Regions from separate parts of the Homo sapiens genome. Here all the other regions are linked to region 1. The links are contacts of gene promoters, found by promoter capture Hi-C in human tissues and cell types (Jung and others, 2019). All regions are on one chromosome and are shown on one strand. Each heading gives the region's core, a stretch centred on a gene start or on the middle of the fragment in contact. The rest is flanking DNA. Distances are from core to core; before and after follow the strand shown. Region 1 holds the start of NDNF (neuron derived neurotrophic factor). Region 2 overlaps PRDM5 (PR/SET domain 5). Region 3 holds the start of PRDM5 (PR/SET domain 5).

Evidence for each region. Contacts are between HindIII fragments. The study calls those that stand out against the background at their distance.
Region 2: a fragment that was not itself captured here is called in contact with the fragment with the promoter of NDNF in region 1 in 2 of the 25 tissues and cell types used here (mesendoderm cells and stomach).
Region 3: a contact is called between the fragment with the promoter of PRDM5 here and the fragment with the promoter of NDNF in region 1, in 1 of the 25 tissues and cell types used here (ovary).

The regions. Positions count from the first base shown.
Region 1 is chr4:121,070,637-121,074,624 of GRCh38, reverse strand. NDNF (neuron derived neurotrophic factor) reads left to right here and starts at 2,090. Exons shown (of 4, transcript NM_024574.4): 1 at 2,090-2,632. It overlaps NDNF-AS1 (NDNF antisense RNA 1), which reads right to left and starts at 3,263. Exons shown (of 3, transcript NR_187407.1): 1 at 3,045-3,263; 2 at 761-875. The HindIII fragment of the contact is 5,612 bases long and covers 1-3,988 here.
Region 2 is chr4:120,900,604-120,904,591 of GRCh38, reverse strand. All of the region lies in intron 2 of PRDM5 (PR/SET domain 5), which reads left to right. Among named protein-coding and RNA genes, the nearest start is that of PRDM5, 20 kb to the left of the region's middle. The HindIII fragment of the contact is 6,197 bases long and covers 1-3,988 here.
Region 3 is chr4:120,920,941-120,924,928 of GRCh38, reverse strand. PRDM5 (PR/SET domain 5) reads left to right here and starts at 2,203. Exons shown (of 16, transcript NM_018699.4): 1 at 2,203-2,413. The coding sequence starts at 2,321. LOC105377399 (a long non-coding RNA gene) reads right to left here and starts at 1,993. Exons shown (of 2, transcript XR_001741804.2): 1 at 1,602-1,993. The HindIII fragment of the contact is 5,313 bases long and covers 1-3,988 here.

The sequences.
Region 1 (3,988 bases), core at 841-3,340:
CTTGGCTAGTGGCACCATCCCTGCCTTAGCGCACCAGCCAGAAAACTGGGAGTCAGTCTAGACTCTCTTCTCTCCATTACCCTCTATGTCCAATCAATCACTAAGCCTTGTCTATTCTATTTCCTAAATATCTCTAGAGCTGTCCTAACCTCCCAAACAGCATTTCTGCTGCCTTGGTTCAGACCTAATTTTTCCTCTGGAAATAACCTCACTGTGATCTCTCTTCTATTTGTCTTGCACAGTGAAACCAGAGGAAACCTTCTAAAACACATTATCTAATAATACTTACAAACCTTAGAATCTGTCCTAGCTTAACACCTTTAACAGTTTCCCAACTACTCACCACCTCCAGGCAAGTTCTGGCTCCTTACACCCAGAGAGCCTTGTGTGGCTTGGCCTTGCTTACTTCACCTGCAGTCTAGCCGCACCTAGTCTCCTAGTTTCCAGGACACACCATGTACTTTGACACTTTCCTAACCTCTTCACTTGCTTCTGTTTGTGGAATGCCCTCCCCCCTCCACCACATCCTTGTTGGCCTTGTATTTCTTCCTTGTCTTTCAGAACTCTACACTGAAATCTCTACCAAGAGAAGCTTCTGAAGGGGAGTTAGCTGTTTCCTTTTCCATGCTTCCACAGGACCAGGTACCTGCACTTATTATAGTGCTAATCACATTTTCATTTATGCCTCTGTCTCCTCACCAGGCGGTGAGTTCCTTAAAGGCAGCACCATCACCTCTAAATCTCAGCACATAAGACATACCTGGTACACAGCAGGGACTTCGTAAGCTTTGTTAATGAATGACCCAGGGATCTGCTCTAGATCGTATCTCCTAAGTGGAGATACAATGAGGACTTTTCTCACCTCATTGTCTCATCTGCAAAAAATATGCTTGCACAGTGATCTGAAATGTCCTTTTCAGTGTTTAAAAATTTTACAAAACTATTTTATGTCGTGTAAACGGTTTTATAAATCCATTTCCTGCAGTGTTTTCATCTAGGAACCACAAAACTTTAGGAGCTGCATTGGTCCACCCTCTGTGACCAACTGTTTAGCAAAAAAGATCATAGTTCTTAATATGACCGGGATAAGGCTGATTTTCATCCTACCTACCTTAATTTCATTGTGGCAATAACAGAACTAGTGTTTTCAATACTGACACTATATCTTAATAAATAATTATATATTATTAGAACTTATATAAAACCAGGTTTGCTGGAAATCAGGTTCTCAGTTGCAAAAATGAGATCACCAAATCATTCGGTACTTTTTTTTTCTTGGTTTTCCTAAGCCCAGGCCAGGTTGCTAATTAGGTAACTTTTTATCATAATTACCTAGTCAGCCTTAATGGCTTCACACACTCTGCTCCGTTTCACTGGTCCTGTAGGGCCGCTTTTTCAATTGTTAAAACAGCTGCTGAGTTTCAAATCGGAGGAGGCTCGGTCTGCGCCGAGGGGGAAGCGCTCCCTGAGTGAAGGCTGTGATAGGCAGGCGTTCGGGTGAAAAGTGGGACATGAATGCACAGTTTGCACACTCTGCTTTCCGCCTCCAACCACCAACCTTCTGGATTTAACACGTCCCCCTCCCTGCCCCCAGATCAACCCCAGAGTTTCCCTCTATTGTGCACCCCGGTCTGCTTGACAGTGTGATGGTCCCGCGTGCGCGTCTCCTGGGTTTTGCAGCTTTGTCGGGGGCTCGGTGGGCCTCCTTCATTCTCCCCGAGTGGCGCTAAGGTTAGGACAGCAGCGTGTCCCTCGCGATGCCGCCCGCGAGGGTCCTGTTTGGGGAGCGCTGGGTCGCTGAGCAGGGTGGTGTGTGTGTGAGAGAAAGAGAGGGAGGGAGGGCTACAGGGAGAGAGAAAAGGAGGGAGAGGGTGTCTGTGTGTGAGTGTGTGTATGTGTATGAGTGTGTGTGTGTGTGTGTGTGTGTGCGTGCGCGCTGGCGCGCAGCGGGAGGGAGAGAAGGAGGGACGGAGGGGGAGGCAACGGGCAGAGGAGGGAGGGGGCGGGCGGGCAGCGGTGAGGCGGGAGGGGTTAGGGCTGGGAGGGGAAGAGACTCCGGGCTTCAGCAGTGACACTCGGGAGCGAACACACACTCCCCACTTCCAGCCGCGAGAGAGTGGAGCTAACTGAGCAGCGCACCCGCCACGGCCGCTGCCGCCCCGTGCGCCCGGCTCTCCCAGCACCCCGCGCGGCGCTCCAGCCAGGCGCCTGTGCGACTAGCGGCGGCCGGCGAAGCCCGCGCCAGCCCCGCGGGTCGCTGCGGCATCCTCCCGCCGCCCAGCCCCCGCACGCTCCCTGCAGTTTAAAAGGACCTCCCGCCGCTTCTCGGCGCTGCCCCGGGATTCCCCAGCCCCGCGCGGCTCCCTACTCCACTTCGCAGCAACTTCGGCGACCGCGCGCCGCCCGCCCTCGCCCGCCTTTGAAGTTTGCTGTGCCGACCGCAAAGTTGGGACACTTCAGCGGATTGAATTTTTCTCTTTTATCTGCCTCCGTCCCCGCCCTCCAGGCTTCTCGTTCCTGGATATTGGTGCTTAGCATCTTGGCAGGGTCCGGGGACGTGGACTATTTCGCACACCACACCACGGGGAGGGATTTTTTTCTATTTTCCCTACGAAAAACAGATCTTTTTAAGGTAAGTGGGGAGAGGAAAGCAATGCCCCAGAGACCCGACGCCTTAGCCCGCCACCCTGAGACCTAGCACAAGGAGCGTTCACGCCCGAAGGGTCATCCGAGATGGGGGCTCGAGGCACGCGCCCCCAAATCTTCAAGGCCCAAGAAGCTTCTCAAGGGCGCCCTATCCGTAGGAGCTGAGGGCATGAGGGGCAGGAGCAGGTTTCCCTCGTTTTTTTTTTTTTATTGTTGTTGTTGTTTGTTTGTTTGTTTGTTTTTAATTTAGCTGCTTTCGAAGCTGGGCGGCCCGGAGAGATGTGAGGAGGTGGACAGACAGCGCAAGGGCGGGGAAGACCTGGGACCCGGGAGCTCGGGGTGCAGTGGGGTCTGGGGAGCCGCGGAGCCTTTATCCCGGACTTAGCCTGGACACTTACTTTGCCCGCCTGCCAAGAGGGCTGTTGCCTCCCTTTCCAGGTTCATGCCCTCCGCCCGCCGCTAGGGAAAGTCTGCGGGACTGGGGTTTTGCAGAGGGCGTCTGCGTGTAGGGCGAAAAGCTAGAGGTCCAGGCAGCGCACGAGTTCTTGGTGGGCGTCTGGGAGCTGCGCAGCCGGGGCCGGGAGTTCGGTTGGCCCGACCCCCAACCGCTCTGGCTCCTCATTTGTCCTCTGCGTGGTAGGCGAGCATCGTTATAGAAACTTCCTTGGGCTGAGCGAGGTGGCCTGGGACCGGCTCATACTTTCTTCCGGAGAGCAGAGCGGCCACCGAGGTGACGCCCCCTACGGCCCCAGCCAGGAGACTCGGCTTCGTGCCCTCGTCCTGTCTGTGCGTGAGTTGGGGTTCGCTCTCACCCGCGCTACCTTTCTAACTGAGCGGAGTCGCCGCGGCCCCGATAACCTAGGAGTCCGAACGAGTGATTGCAGGTCCCAGCTGTTTTCTTGGAGGCACTTTGCAAACTGCTGAATTTGGAGTGCGGTTTCGTTGCATTGTGCGCTCTCGGTTCACCTTTCTGCCCGCACCCTATCCCAGGCCCAGGCGTGAGAGCTCCCGGCAGTTCCCCGGACCCGCCCCGCATCAGCTCCTCGGAGTTTGCCGCGGGCACCTCTACGCTGTCTCTGAGCTGTCCCTCCGGCCAAGTTGCGGTTCCCCTCCTGGCCCCCTTCGGGGCGCTGTCCATTTCTTGCTCTTGGGTACGGGTGGCTCCCTAAAACCAAGACCTTGAGCGGGAAATGAACCTGAGTGTATGTCTGGGTTTTGTTGTTGTTGTTATGTTTTTTCCTTCTTTTCTTTAAATTTATTTACAGAGTTCTTTTTAGCAACTTTGTTGGGTTGATAAATTTGCTTCTCATCTGTCGATCCCGCTAAATCACAAAGAAGAGTT
Region 2 (3,988 bases), core at 854-3,353, 170 kb after region 1:
TCTGCTACCCAAGGAGCTATTGATTTTATACATTTTTATGCTCAGGTAATGGTACACTCACACGATTGCCATTCTCTGTTTCATTTTACTTCACCCTTTATGTCTGTGTTTTGAACAAGTAATATTTTTACTTGTTACACAATTCAGAAGGTACAAAAGGGAATTGATGAAAAGTCTCTGTTCCCTTCCAGCCTGTTTTTTTCACCTGAGACCTTTTGATACATTTAACCCCTTAGTTCATATACCTTCCCCCTCCCCTTCTGGTTCTTTTTCCTCTTGGTCTCGTCTTCATTTCGGATTGTCAGCCATTGTATTAGTCTGTTGTCATGCTGCTAATAAAGACATACCTGAGACTGAGTAATTTATAAAGGAAGGAGGTTTTTTTGTTTTTTTTTTTTTTTTGAGAAGGAGTCTCCCTCTGTCACCCAGGCTGGAGTGCAGTGGCACGATCTCAGCTCACTGCAACCTCCATCTCCTGGGTTCAAGAGGTTCTCCTGCCTCAGCCTCCCAAGTAGCTGGGATTACAGGTGCATGCCACCACACCTGGCTAATTTTTGTATTTTTAGTAGAGACGGGGTTCTACCATGTTGGCCAGGCTGGTCTTGAATTCCTGACCTGAAGTGATCTGCTGGCCTCGGCCTCCCAAAGTTCTAGGATTACAGATGTGAGTCACCATGCCCAGCCAGGAAGGAAGTTTAATGGTCTCACAGTTCCATATGGCTGGGGCAGCCTCACAATCATGGTGGAAGGCAAAGGAGAAGCAGAGGCATGTTTTACATGGTGGCAGGCAAGAGAGCTTGTGCAAGAGAACTCCCGTTTATAAAACCATCAGACCTTGTAAAACTTATTCACTACCACGAGAACAGTATTGGGTAAACTGCCCCAATGATTTAATTATCTCCAGCTGGCCCTGCCATTTACACATGGGGATTATTGCAGTTCATGGTGAGGTTTGGGTGGGGACACAGAGGCAAACCATATCAGCCATTCCCTGCTCTGCCCAGTTGTGCAGCTGGACAGGGGAAGGGACAGATTCTGTGGTAGGTCTTCTAGAGGGAACATTTCAAGAACAACACTTTTAGAATTGCAGAGTTATTGCTTGCTATCTTTAATCTTGTCCCTTATTATGTTGAGTGAGCAAGCTGCTTCCAAACCCTGAGTTATACCATTGAAAGTCCTTTATTTTTTTATTATTTTAGCTTTGGAGGTGCTAGGATTCAGAAAGAGCACAGATACAGGAGAATAACTGGTCCTGTTACTGGTCCTGCTTCTGCCCCTTGTGGAACTGTTTGAGTCTTTCCAAAGGGAGATAATGAGCCTTCCCTCCTCTGGTGGGTAAATTTAGATTGGTTATGGGAGTCATTTCTGCTATGCCCCATATCTATGGTGCTAACCACAATGAAGCTCTCAAATGAGTAGTCCTTCTCAAAAAAATAGTTACATATGTTGTGGTTATGGAACATGAACCAGAACCTGGTGGTAGTGTCTGGAAAATGATGTCATGTGAGAGAGCATGTGGCATAACTCCTTCTCAGTTTATACCTGTATTCTGCTTATGATGCCAGTGGTTGTGGTGGACAAGGCCAAGAGCCCCTGGGGAGCCATTTCATACCAAAGAACTTGGAGTTACCAGTCAGGATTGAGCCTCCTGGTAGGTGTGAGCCTTTGTGAGCTTGGGACAGGGTATGAAGGGATCTTAGGGTCATGGGGAGCACTAATAATATCTACTGCCACCTCTCTCTCTTTGTCCAAAGGTGCAGCTTAGAACTTACTGATGCCCACTGCTTCAGAGTGCTCACTAGTACCTCAGTTACTTTCTGTATTGGCCATCAGGTTTTGAGCTTGGTCTCTGAATAGACTGAGTGTTGTGGGTCTTTAATCCTTCTTGATCACCTCAGATTTTTACTTTTCTTTTAAAATTAAGTGCTTAAGCAGAAGAACTCTGGATTTCTTGGGCCTCAGGCATATTACAAAGCTTGAGGTTAGGAACCAGTGTTTGACTGTAAATGCTTCCCTTGGACAATTTGGTGGAATATACCCAGTTTTCTGCATTGTATTCCATTCTTCTCTTAATTAGAAGTCTTTCTGTCTACTTTTTGCCAGGTGGTTTGGAGCTTGAGATACATTTCCTTCAATTCTCTACTAATTCAGACTCATTCTATGACCTATGACCTATGTTCTATTTGCTAAACTCTCAATAATTCTTTGTTTTTACGTCTCCAAGACATCCTCTTTCTATAATATTTTCTTAGATATTTCAAACCACAATTCAAGTACGTTTTCTCCAGGCACTGGCTCTGTGCTTCCAGCATATAACTTTACATTTTGGCACCTGTGGAATGCAGCACAGTTTGTGCATTTCCTTGCTACCTGTTCTGACCATGATTTAGTTGTTCTAAAGTGGCTACTGGTGAATCCAGTAGCAGCTGGAATCCTCCAAACAGCTCTTTTCTATTGGCTCTGGGCCTTTCTTTCCATTTCAAAAGTGATTCTCTGGGATGCTTGCAACAGGTTTTGTGTAGAAACTGCCCTGATAAGTTCTCAGAAACTTGGTGTTGTCCTATATTTCCAGTGGAGTCATTCATTCTTGAACTTTACAACTGCTCCAAGATCACAAGGTCTCTGCCTCACTCTCCTCTTTTTCTCTCACTCATGCTGAGTCTGCATTTGCCTCTTAGTCTTTGAACGTTTCTGTGGATGCAGTGGGTGTTCAGTGGTGTGATCTGATGCAAGTGGAGTCATATGCTATGCCACAGTTCAGTACACTGGGTGGTCCCTCTGGAAAGACAGCTTTTACTGTGTGCAGAATCCTAAAGAACCAGATACAAACTAAAATTTCAAGTAAAATATCTTAATTCTGGGTGGCATTTTCATAGGAAAAATTTAAGCCTCTTTTACTTAAATACATTATATCATCCATAACTTATGCTAAAAAGGTATTTATCTCAACACAAGGAACATTAGGACAAAACCAAAACAAATAGAGGTTGAACTTTGCTTTTTTAAAAAGTCTGTGGCCTCGTAAGGGTTCCAGATGTAACACAATGTGGGATACCCAGAGCACTGTGAGAGCCGTGTGCGTCACCTGCAGCAGCCTGACTTAATGGCATTTAAAAAGTTTTACATGCATTTATTTTCCTACGTCTGTCTCCTGGATCATTCATGAGAAAACTCTATGTTTTACATCTGAGGTTAGTGTATTACCAGGGTAATTAGTCATTACAACCTACTAGAAAATTGCATATTACAAAATCCAGAGGATCAAATTATCATGATTTTATTTATTTTTGTGGGCAGTTTCTGATTTTGTGGACTGGATAAATAACATGTTTTCAAAATATAGCCATCATGGTGGGAACAGGGTGAGGGATAAAAGACTGTATATTGGGTACAGTCTATACTTCTTGGTTGACAGGTACACTAACATCTCAGAAGTCACCACTGTAGAATTCATCCATGTAACCAAAAACCACTTGTACCCCCAAAGCTACTGAAATAAAAACAAAAAATTTAAAAATTTAAAAAAGGATGGAAGCTTGTACATAATCTATCACTCGTTTATTTAAATACATGAGGACATATATAAAAGTGCTTAATGTACCTAAAATAGAAGTGAATGGGTAACAATAGCTGTCTCTAAGGAAAAGGAATGGGTGACAAGAAATAGAGGAGAGAGGGAGACTTTTTTATTACTATATAATCTTTTTACCTTTAAATTTTTATTGTGTATGGGCATTACCTGTTGTGTGAAACAAACTTTTTTTTAAGCAATAAATACCCCCCAAAACTCCACAAAATATAGCAATTAAAAGACATCATTATAAGATTTGCAGCTGTTTTTGTATGATTGTGAATCTCTTACAGTTATAGCAAATTATTATTTCAAAATAAGTGTACATAGCAGATGAGTTGGGGCTCCTTCTGTTATTGATGGGGTTTAAGACATCCATTTATCAGTTAAAATATATATGGATTGTTTTTGGAAACT
Region 3 (3,988 bases), core at 954-3,453, 150 kb after region 1:
TCTGACCAAGCTTCATAAAATATCTGGAAAGTTTCTCATCTTATTGATTTCAGATTTATCTTTAAAATTTTATTTATATACTTTCACCATTTTCTAATTAGTAAAGAAGCCTACATTCAGAGAGGGGCATTCTCAAGGCTGCAGCCTTGCTCCCCAGAAAGACAGCATGCAACCAAATATTTGAGAGATATGCCTAAATAAGGATCCCTAAATAAGGATTGTTTCAGACTAAAACCAAAAAACGTTTTCCTCTCCAGCGATCAAAAGCTGTGGAAATTCTCGTGCCCAAAGAGACAGTGGCAGAGCATTTGACTGAGAGCCCTGGATGGCTTAAGGGTGGCTGGAAGCCTGTGTTTGACAAAGAGCTGAATGCTCCAGGAAAATGCCAGGGCCCCACCTTCTGGACTGTGGGCCCAGTGGATCTGGTCTGGCATGGTTTCAGCCCTGGTTCTAAGGAACCCTGGAAAACCTACTTAGTCCAGTTCCTTGTGAAGCACAACAAAAAGTCAAGTAAATTCTAGGCTCACCATAGAATTTTTGAACATCTCAGATCAGCCTCAGAAGTGACTTTCATTCAAGACATATTTAATGAACACCTACTATTTTTCAAGGCCATGGAACTCCCAATTCCCCCAAAAGAGAGTTTTTGTTTTTATTGATTTATTTTCCCCTAGAGAAGTTAGAGATCTTCCATGGGAAGTCAAAGGTATCAAAACTCACAGAGTGGCTAAGTGTTCCTCTCCCTGCTGTGAAAGCTAAACTTACATTTCTTAGAAAGAGGATCATGTCATCATTTACTGTGTTCCTTAAAGTCTCCGAATATTGCCACTACATGATTTTTTTTTCCCATAATGCCTTTTGTTCTTGTTTTTTAAACCTTTTTCCAAACTTGAATCAAAATCTACATAGGGGCCGGGTGTGGTAGCTCAAGTGTGTAATCCCAGCACTTCAGGAGGCCAACGCCGCCGGAGGATCCCTTAAGCCCAGGAGTTCAAGATCAACCTGGGAGACATAGCTAGACCCTGTCAAAAAAAAAAAAAAAAAAAAATCTGCTTAGGAACTATGTTCCAAGGGTTTCCTGCAGAAACAGGAATCGTTTCCATGGTGTGTGTGTGTAGTCTGTAATTTTGTCAAACTTTTGTGTGTGCTTTTAATGGTTTATGAGAACATCAATTAAGAACATCAAATGGTTTCCGAGAAAAGACCCTAGAGTAGAAAATTACCATAAATATCAAGAGAAATGAGTAGATGACCCCAGGATCACTTTGAAGGATGAAACAGGCTTTTAAAGGTCCTGGGCACACTGCACAGCCTAACAGCTTATTAAAAACACTAAAACAAGACTTGTGACTTTATTGCATTGTTGTGACACCAGATGCTATTGTTTGGGTGTCCCCTCCTGTCTCCCACAAATCCACTTCCGTATGTCTGAAAATCCGTAATACGTCTAATGATTATCAAGCAAGGGAGGTCTCAGGAATATTGTACCTTGAGAAGTATAAGAACTTCCCAGAGGTTATGTTACCATAAAATATCTAGTTTCTAGTGCTTAAAACATTAAATTGTTTGCAACATATTTTTCCGTACGTTAATCAACATACTTTGCGATCCCTTATTAAGTTCTAGCCTCTGCAACAAACGTGAAAAAAAGCAAAGACGCATAACTCAAATGTGAGAAGCACGGAAATTTCCTAGACCGCAGGGTTCGTTCTCAGTAGTCGGCAATAAGCTGGCTTTCAGAGTCAGGAACTTGATAAAGTTGTTTTGGAGGATGCCCCAGCTGTGTGAAGGTCCATTTCGTTTTGCATCTGAAGAGAAGCAAGCGAGACTCCCCTACAGGGAGTAATGGTTCAGCGGGGCAAGGTTTGAAAACCCAGAGCTGGACAAAGGCGGGAACGCACGCCGCCGCGCCGGGGCTAGGGGTGCTGACGGCCCGCGCAGCTCGCGGGCCTCCGGGTTTGAGGCCCTGGGGTCAGCCCTGCTCCGGGCTTCGCGCCCGGGCGCGGGTCAGAGCCGCCAACTTCGGGCCAATCAGCGAGCGGCGTCCCGGCGCCCGCAGCGCCCAGGCCCGCGCCCCCCGCGCCCCCGCAGCAGGAATGGCAGGAACGGATCCGGGCCGAGCCCGACCCGGGACGAGGAGGGGCTGAGCCGCGGGGGATCCTGGAATCGGCAGGGAGGTGGGGATTCTGGGAGGAAAACTCCATTTCCTCCTTCCCTGCCGGTTTCTCCCCTCTACCCTGGCACCCCAAATTTCGATGTGCCGCCTGCCGGGCGCTAAGCGCCGGTGTTGAGAGAGGCGGCGGCCGCCGCGCCCGGGAAAATGCTGGGCATGTACGTGCCGGACAGGTTCTCCCTGAAGTCCTCCCGGGTTCAGGACGGCATGGGGCTCTACACGGCCCGCAGAGTGCGAAAGGTGGGTGACCCGGCGGCGGCCTGCGCGCCCCTGCACCTCGCGCGCCCTGTGCCTCCCGGAGTCGCCCTGCCGCAGGGCCCGGGGCGCGGCGGGCTTCACCCCGGTCGCCCCTCGCCCGGGCCGGGCCAGGCGTCCGTGGGAAGGCCGGGGACCGCGGGGCACGGCGGGGGTGGCCTTTACTCGCTGCGCCACCCGAGCAGGCAGCGCCACGTAGGTGGCGGCGGGGTGCGCTCCGCTGCCGGCCGGTCCAGGGGCGGAACTGCCACCGGCCTCCCTGCCGCAAGATGTCTTTCCTCTCTCCCGCAGGAAGTGAGCGCGGCGGGAGCCTCCCTCTTCCTCGGTTACGGGTGTGAGCTGCGTCTTTGCGTTGGCGAAGGCACGCGTGGGCGGGTGTTTTCCCCCGCGCGCACGCTGCTCCGCTGTCGCCTCTTTTCCTTTAGGATGAATTAATGTGGCTAGAAACGCCTAACTTTCCATGCGGGGATGGGAGGAGCAGCCCAGAGCGCCGCTCCACGCAGGCCGTAGAATCTCATTCATACGCCCAGGATTTCCTTCCCTCCTTCTGGAATGTATTATATGTGCCTTCAGGGAGGTGCCAACCAGATGATCTTTGAGTGTCTATACCTTTTTTCTCCGCTCTTTTTTTTTTTAATTTGTCTCCAACATCGGTTCGATCTCTCCAGCCAGAAAGTTACAGGCATGTGATGAGAGGAAGCACATTGCTCAGTTCGTACAGGAAGGGCCTGAAAGTGTTGGATGTTGAAAGCAAAGGCCTAGGAAGAGAGGCCACAGGAAAAGTCCAGCTCTTTGGATTTGATCTTATAATATTATAACTTGTTAGAGTCGTCCTAGCCGTCCTCGCCCCCTTTTCTTAGTAGATATTTTGTAAGATGGAGGTTTGGGCAAGAACAGGCTTGTTCAGGTAAGGTATGTTAACAAGAGGTTCAGAGGATGCAGTAGAGACACTAGGGTGCCTTTCATCTGCATATAACCCTCTCCCCTTTGCCTCTGACCTAAAGAGCTGGTGAAGAGTAGTAGAAAGTGCTAGTAATCCCCAAAAAGGGCTCCACTGACAACATGATCTCCAGTCATCCTTCAGGGCAAAATTGGAGAAAATAAACCACTTATTTATTTTTTCAAGTGGGAGTTGGCGAGAATGTTCAAATGTTAAAAACAGGAATAAATAATTTATCTGAATTAGAGGTGTATTGAATAGTTGCCAAATGGCCAAATGTTAAAATCAACATTTTTTGAAGGCCAAATACAACCATCACCAAATGACGTCTGTACAGAGTTGAAATTCTCCTTTTAATTCATTCTTAAAAGATGTGAAAAATTCTCAAACAGACCTTCCTTAAAGGTTTCTGGCTTAAATTTAATTACTTTAAAAATTAAACACAGATCTTAAAAATCATTTTATTTAATGTTATGAAGAGTACTGTAAACAACTCTGCAAAGATTAGAATTATTATATAATCCTTGTTGTTTCCTTATATTACCATATAGATTTTTAGAAACAGCTGGCCAACCTACTTTCTTTTGAGATTTTTATTAATTTCAGTTTATTTTTTTCAT